Regions from separate parts of the Homo sapiens genome. Here region 2 is linked to region 1. The links are contacts of gene promoters, found by promoter capture Hi-C in human tissues and cell types (Jung and others, 2019). All regions are on one chromosome and are shown on one strand. Each heading gives the region's core, a stretch centred on a gene start or on the middle of the fragment in contact. The rest is flanking DNA. Distances are from core to core; before and after follow the strand shown. Region 1 holds the start of PPRC1 (PPARG related coactivator 1). Region 2 overlaps TRIM8 (tripartite motif containing 8).

Region 1 (3,479 bases), core at 670-3,169:
GGAGGTGGAGGTTGCAGTGAGCCAAGATCGCGCCACTGCACTCCAGCCTGGTGACAGAGTGACACTCCATCTCAAAAAAAAAAAAAAAAAAATTAGCTGGGCATGGCAGTGTGTACCTGTAGTACCCAGCTACTCTGGAGGCTGAGGCAGATGGATCCTTTGAGCTTGAGAGATCACAGTGAGCTATGCTATGATCTGCCACGGCACTCTTGCTCACCGCACTCCACACTGCAGCCCTGGGTGACAGAGTAAAACCCTATTGTCTAACAAAAAAAAAAAAAAGAAAGAACATCTAAGAAAAGGTCCAGAAAAGGTCCTCTCTTTTCATGAACATGTGTGGGGATGTATAGTGATGCAATATTTCTAAAGGGCAATTTTCTACTGTATTTCAAATACATGCATTGTTTAACTCGGCACTTGAATTTCATGGAAACTATTCCACAGAAAGATTGCACAAAAGTGCAAAGGTACATGTACATGACATATGCAAGGGTGTTCATCATAATAATATGTAATAGTGAGAAACTGTAAACAACTTAAATATTATTTATTTTTGAGAAGAAGTCTCACTCTGTCACCCAAGTTGGAGTGCTGTGGCATGATCTTGGCTCACTACAACCTCCACCTCCTGGGTTCAAGCAATCCTCCTGCCTCGGCCTCCCGAGTAGCTGGGACCACAGATGTGTGCCACCATGTCCAGCTAATTTTTAAATTTTTGGTAGAGGTGGGGTTTTGCCATGTTGTCCAGGCTGGTCTCAAACTCCTTAGTTCAAGTGATTCACCCACTTCAGCCTCCCAAAGTGCTGGGACTACAAGTGTGAGTCACCGAGCCACGGCCAGAAACAACTTCAATATAATTTAAATAACAATACATTCATAAAATAGAACTGGTGCTAAAGGCTCAGTAAATATTTAGCTAGTGAGTGGATTAACATATTGTTACATAAAAAAAGCAAATCACCAATTTGTGCCCCTATATATTTTTCCATTCATAGAAAAAAGCGTCAATGAATACACACTAAAAGTAACAAGGGGTTTAAATCTGGGCAGTAGAACTATAATTTGCAGGCCTACTACTTTTTTTCCTCTAAACAGTCTTGTACTTTTTGAAATAATTTTTGTGCTTTGTAAAAAGTTATTTAAAAATAGCAAATATGAAGTAGCTTTTAAGTGGCAAATGAATGAAGAGTAGAGACAGTGATGGACCGTAGAAACGCAGAGCGGGATCCCTCTTGGCTAGGACAACCAAAGCCTTTCCTAGATTAAATAAGGCATGAAATGTTTTGAGGTTCAAGTATTCCAGGTCGACATATAGGCAGGAGAACACCTGTTGTCTTTAGGGAACAGCAAGGAGACCTGAAACAGCAAGAAACAAATTTGATAGAGAAGGCAACGTAAGTTTCTGAGTAGTAGCAGAGAGGGCGGAGAACGCGACATTTTCCGATTAAGTTTGCAGTACTGCCGCAATATGGGATTAGGTGAGGATTAGCGCTTGGAGCGCAAGTGCCCACTAGGGGGTGGTGTTTCAAAACATATACAGGCCCACTTGGCCCCACTTGGACTAAGGTGAAAGGAACGTACAGCAGGTAGAACGTCAAAGAGGACGTTCCAACAGTTGGACAAGTTAACGACAATAAAATACGCAAATGTTAACTTTCCCCCTAACTGCTGAGCGCTCCCTAAATCGGTATCCCAGTGTAACGCAAAACTAAGCCCTACAGGATGCCTGCAGCTAGTGCCAAACGGTCCCCACTTAAAGGGACTACTACTCCCAGGAACCTTCGCGCGAGGCCAGGGCCTTCTTCCAGGGTGCAAGTGGGTCTCGCCGCACGGCTCTCTGGGATTCGTAGTCTTGCAGTGTCATTCGGGAGTTGTAGTTCCTTTCCCACAATCGGCTGGGCGAGGCGGCGCCAGCGATCAGAGCAGCGCTGGGTGTTCAGGGGCCAAGATGGCGGCGCGCCGGGGACGGAGAGACGGAGTCGCGCCGCCCCCGAGTGGGGGCCCCGGTCCGGACCCTGGCGGGGGAGCCCGCGGCAGTGGTTGGGGAAGTCGAAGCCAAGCGCCGTATGGGACTTTGGGCGCTGTGAGCGGCGGCGAGCAGGTGAGAGGTTGGCTGGCGGCCCGCGACAGGCAGCAAAGCGGTGTGTGCCGGGCGGTGACACGTGGACGCCACAGGAAAGAGAGGAAGCGCCTGAGAGTCGATGCCGGGTGGCCGCGGGAGCCGGGCCGGAGCAAGTGGGCCCTAGGCCGTTTGCTGGGGGTAGGCGGGCAGAGGCAGCGTCTCTACGGCCATTCCTGGGGGACGCCGGAGGGGGAGAGCGGGGTGTCGGAAACATAACCCGCGGCTGGGGGTCAGGGGTTCGGACTTGGGGTCGAAGGCTGAGACCTCCATGTAAGGATGCCCAGTGAGGCTCCCCGAGCCCGGCGCCGCAGTTCCCTTTTCGGAGCCACGTGGGGTTGGGGGAGCAATTTTCCCGGGAGAACTTGTCTGCCTCCCCTCCCCCTCTAGGCGGCCCGGGCATCCACGTGGGTCGGGCTCCTGGTGGAGGGGGGCGCAGGCAGCGGGTCCACGTGGGGGCGGGGAAGGAACGTCCACGTGGCTCCCGTCCCAGGCTGTCGGGCATCTAGTATCGGCCTTGGAGCCTGGCTGACGCGAACTGGGTGTGTCTCCACGGGTCCCGCCATCTCCTGCCGGGGCTGGAGGCCCGGGCCGGGAAGGAAGGTAAGGGCTGCTAGAGTCAACTTTGTTCAGAGCCTTGGAGGTTTTTTTTTTCCCTGCTGCTTGGGTCCGCAACGTCTCTCCACTGCGGATGGTGAAGGACTCTCCAGATGTTGCGGGAGTTTGTTCCCTGCGGATGGCTGAGTGTGATGGGGAGGGTAGAGGGCTGAGGCTGAAGGGTTGTGGAGGAGTGAGTTTGTGGCGCTTCCGTCTGACCGGCTTGGGGTGGGTTGTGAGTCACGGGCATTGGCGTTTTGGTTGCCTTGCAGTCTTGCCTTATTAGTGATTCAAGGGGTATGGGGAGTGTCAACATACACCTGGGACAAGGTTAAGAAAGGGAAAGGGAATCCTCTCCTCACTTTTTCCTCCAGCATCTCTTTTGGGAAGGCATGCTCCTGTAATCTGACACGCAGAAACTGGGGTGGTCCGTACTTAAGGCTCTTCGGATTTTTTGCTGGGGATGGGAAAAGTTGGAGGCGGTTTGAGAACTGTTCAACATGTTCAACAGTTGAACATACACTGGATGAGGAGGATTCTGTTAGATATTTTTTTCTTGGCCTTCAAAAAGTGTTATTGTTCTACTCTACAGTGGAGGGCTTCTTAAAAGTTTCCACCCAGGGTAGAAGGGGCAGGAATTAGTTTGAACTGTTACCTCTCTTAAACAATTAAGCTGAGTCCTTGACAGCATTTTTTGTGTGTTACTAGGTGGGAGTTGGGCTGCAGGCTGCCTGGTAATATCAGGTCCGGCAGACCAATCCAG
Region 2 (3,682 bases), core at 1-2,500, 520 kb after region 1:
GACAGTGGGTAAGCAACATGACCTCCCCAGCCTCCATTTCTTCAGCTTAAAGTGGGGATATAACTATTCTGTACCTCCTAATGGTAGAGGAGCAAGCATCACCTGAGATGTAACATTCTTGGGCCTCTAGGTGTCAATGGTCCCCAGGTCCAACCCAGGGAGAGGAGGCCTGGGTTGCTTGGGGTGGGAGCTTTGGCGACTTTTGCCCCAACTCTCCACAGGCCCCTTCAGCACGCCGGTGCCCTTCCTGCAGAGTGTCCCCCTGTACCCTTGCGGCGTGAGCAGCTCTGGGGCGGAAAAGCGCAAGCACTCAACGGCCTTCCCAGAGGCCAGTTTCCTAGAGACGTCGTCGGGCCCTGTGGGCGGCCAGTACGGGGCGGCGGGCACAGCCAGCGGTGAGGGCCAGTCTGGGCAGCCCCTGGGGCCCTGCAGCTCCACGCAGCACTTGGTGGCCCTGCCGGGCGGCGCCCAACCAGTGCACTCAAGCCCCGTGTTCCCCCCATCGCAGTATCCCAATGGCTCCGCCGCCCAGCAGCCCATGCTCCCCCAGTATGGCGGCCGCAAGATTCTCGTCTGTTCTGTGGACAACTGTTACTGTTCTTCCGTGGCCAACCATGGCGGCCACCAGCCCTACCCCCGCTCCGGCCACTTTCCCTGGACAGTGCCCTCGCAGGAGTACTCACACCCGCTCCCGCCCACACCCTCCGTCCCCCAGTCCCTTCCCAGCCTGGCGGTCAGAGACTGGCTTGACGCCTCCCAGCAGCCCGGCCACCAGGATTTCTACAGGGTGTATGGGCAGCCGTCCACCAAACACTACGTGACGAGCTAACGCCACGCAGGCGGCGGGGCGCTGGGGAATCTTCCTCCCCAGCCCCCGGGCTCGGGAGTTATGCATCCAGAGACCTGCCCTTCTACCTTCCTCGCCTCCCCTCTTCCTCATTCCATTGCCCCAGGTCTTTTCCTTTTGGATTTTGTTTTGGTTTTGGCTTTGTTTTTGATTTTTTTTTATTATGAATCTCCTGGACGCAGAGGTGACAGTGGGAGCTGGCCTGGGCCAGGACGGCAGGTGGCCCTGGAGATGGGAAAGTGTCTGTGTCGAGGCGCTGAGCTCTCTCTCTGTTTCTCCTTTTTTCCTCTACTCCTTCCCCTTCACACCCCCGTGGCTGGAAGGAACCTCGGCTTCCCTGAAAGCTTGGGGGTCCCACCCTTCTTACCCCACCCGGGAGGAACGCCCAGGGCCCCGGGCTTGTTTCTCCTCTTGTTTTCCTTTTGGGCAGTTTGATCACTGATCGAGTAAGGAATGACCTTTAGATTGTGCGACTTTTGTTTTTGTTTTTTTAAATTTTTTTAAACCAAGAATGATTTCTCCTGCTTCCTTCTCCTCACCATCTTCCCAGACGGAGTTCAAAGGCCACTTCTCAAGCAGCTTTTGGCACCTTCAGCCTCAGAGTGGAATCTTTTAAAGACAGGACCCCTATGTCCAGGAAAGGGGAAAAGGAACTTTGCCAATGATAGTGACCACAGCAAAAGCAAATAATAATAATATTAATAATAATAAAGAGAAATAAAATAATAAAATAAAAAACAATAGCACAGCCCTTGTTGAGGTCAGCAGGGAGGAGGGGCTGCCCGGAGTTGGGTCCTTGCCTGGATTTTGACACAGCAACTTCCTGTAGTGAGCACTTTGTATGAATCGTGGACTTCCTGTTCTCAAGGCGCAGGTATTTATTCTGTATCTGTCTAGAGCACACACCAAAATCCAACCTTCTAATAAACATGATGGCGCAGTCCCACTCCCTGCCTCGCCTGTTCCCCTATCCCCCCCAGGCCTGGGATCTTCAGGCGTCGGTGTGGGGAGGGGCCCCTGCCCTCCTTGCCTTGATTTTGCTCCCCTGGGTCCAGCTGGTTCCAGGCCTGTGAATGTCAGTTCGTCGGGCACTGACTCCGTCTGCTCTTGGCCTTGGGTTCATTTGACAAATATTTGCCCAGGGCCTCCCAGGCCCAGCCCCATGCCACCTGGGCCCCGGCATCTCTTTGAGGTTCTGCCAATGTGCTCTTAGCTGAGGACGAAGGAGGAACACCTTTCTATGAGTCTTGCAAAGTTTACCTCCTTCAGGCCACAAATATTTGAGTGCACACTACGTGCCAGGCACTGTGCAGGGCTGCAGGCATAGAGACAGAATGTAATCTAGCTGGGCCTTGGACCCCATAGGGAGAGGGGACCACTCAGGTCCATACTTCCTTTGGACTTGGGGCTTTGGCCTTGGGAGGGGTGGAGGTGGGGTGGCAAGATGAAAAAGACATCCTGCCCCCATCCACTTCGGCAGAGCTTCTCAAAGTCTCAAGCATGTCTTGGGAGCTTGTTAAAAGGGCCGATTCCTTGCTGTGGCTCACGCCTGTAATCCTGACATTTTGGGAGGCCAAGGCAAATTGCCTGAGCTCAGGGGTTTGAGACCAGCCTGGGCAACATGTCGGAACCCTGTTTCTACAAAAAATACAAGAATTAGTTGGGCGTGGTGGGGCACACCACACCTGTGGTCCCAGCTACTCTGGGACTGAGGTGGGAGAACTGCTTGAGCCTGGGAGGCAGAGGTTGCAGTAGGTCTAGATCAAGTCACTGCACTCCAGCCTGTGCAACAAAACAACAGAGCAAGACCCTGTCTCAAAAAAAAAAAAAAAAAAAGGGTAAGGGTGCTGATTCCTGAGGCCTAGCTTAGACTCATCGGGAATCTCTGAGAGCCCAGGAATTTGCATTTTTAACTCTATTCTCCCATATCCTGGGTTTAGAGAAGTGCTGCCATTGTGGTGGTCAGGGTCCTCCCTGCTGCTTGTCACAGAGGCCACTGCGGGGAGAGGAAGCTGGGACACCCCCAAGGCCCTTCTCTGGAGAGGGGCCTCACCTTCAAAAAGGCTCCGGTTGTTGCCTGATGCTCTGCACAGAGCTGTAAGTCCGCAGCCCATGCACTTCTGTAATCTGCTGGGTGCCTAGTTATCTTTCTTCTTGTTTGGGCAGAATCCGGGCCTGAATGCCACCCACCCCAGGAAGCCCAGGACAAGGCAGACAGCCTTGTAAAGTCCCATTCCTGCCAGGCGCGGTGGCTCATGCCTGTAATCCCAGCACTTTGGGAGGCTGAGATGGGCGGATCACCTGAGGTCGGGAGTTCGAGACCAGCCTGGTCAACGTGGTGAAATTTCATCTCTATTAAAAATACAAAAATTAGCCGGCATGGTGGTGGGCGCCTGTAGTCCCAGCTACTCAGGAGGCTGAGGCAGGAGAATCGCTTGAACCTGGGAGGCAGAGGTTGCAGTGAGCCGAGATCGTGCCACTGCACTGCAGCCTGGGTGACAGAGCCAGACTCCATCTCAAAAAAAAAAAAAAAAAGTCCCATGCCAGTGGTCCAAGCCTCACTGACCCCTAGCCACCCCTCCCCTCAGAAAAATAAAGGCTTGCCGAGCACGTTGGCTCATGCCTGGAATCCCAGCAGTTTGAAGGTGGATGGATCACTTGAGTTCAGGAGTTCAAAACCAGCCTGGGCCACATGGTGAAACCCCATCTCTACTAAAACGAAAAATTAGCCAGGCGTGGTGCCACGGGCCTGTGGTCCTAGCTACTCTGGAGGCTGAAGTGGGAGGATTGCTTGATTGAGGCTGGGAGGTGGAGGTTGCAGTGAGCTGAGATCTT

What was found. Contacts are between HindIII fragments. The study calls those that stand out against the background at their distance.
Region 2: a contact is called between a fragment that was not itself captured here and the fragment with the promoter of PPRC1 in region 1, in 1 of the 25 tissues and cell types used here (stomach).

The regions. Positions count from the first base shown.
Region 1 is chr10:102,131,121-102,134,599 of GRCh38, forward strand. PPRC1 (PPARG related coactivator 1) reads left to right here and starts at 1,920. Exons shown (of 14, transcript NM_015062.5): 1 at 1,920-2,101. The coding sequence starts at 1,949. RefSeq lists an enhancer at 1,743-2,022 and silencers at 2,003-2,182, 2,393-2,442, 2,473-2,592. The HindIII fragment of the contact is 12,055 bases long and covers 1-3,479 here.
Region 2 is chr10:102,656,526-102,660,207 of GRCh38, forward strand. It overlaps TRIM8 (tripartite motif containing 8), which reads left to right. Exons shown (of 6, transcript NM_030912.3): 6 at 222-1,793. The coding sequence ends at 829. Among named protein-coding and RNA genes, the nearest start is that of TRIM8, 14 kb to the left of the region's middle. The HindIII fragment of the contact is 6,582 bases long and covers 1-3,682 here.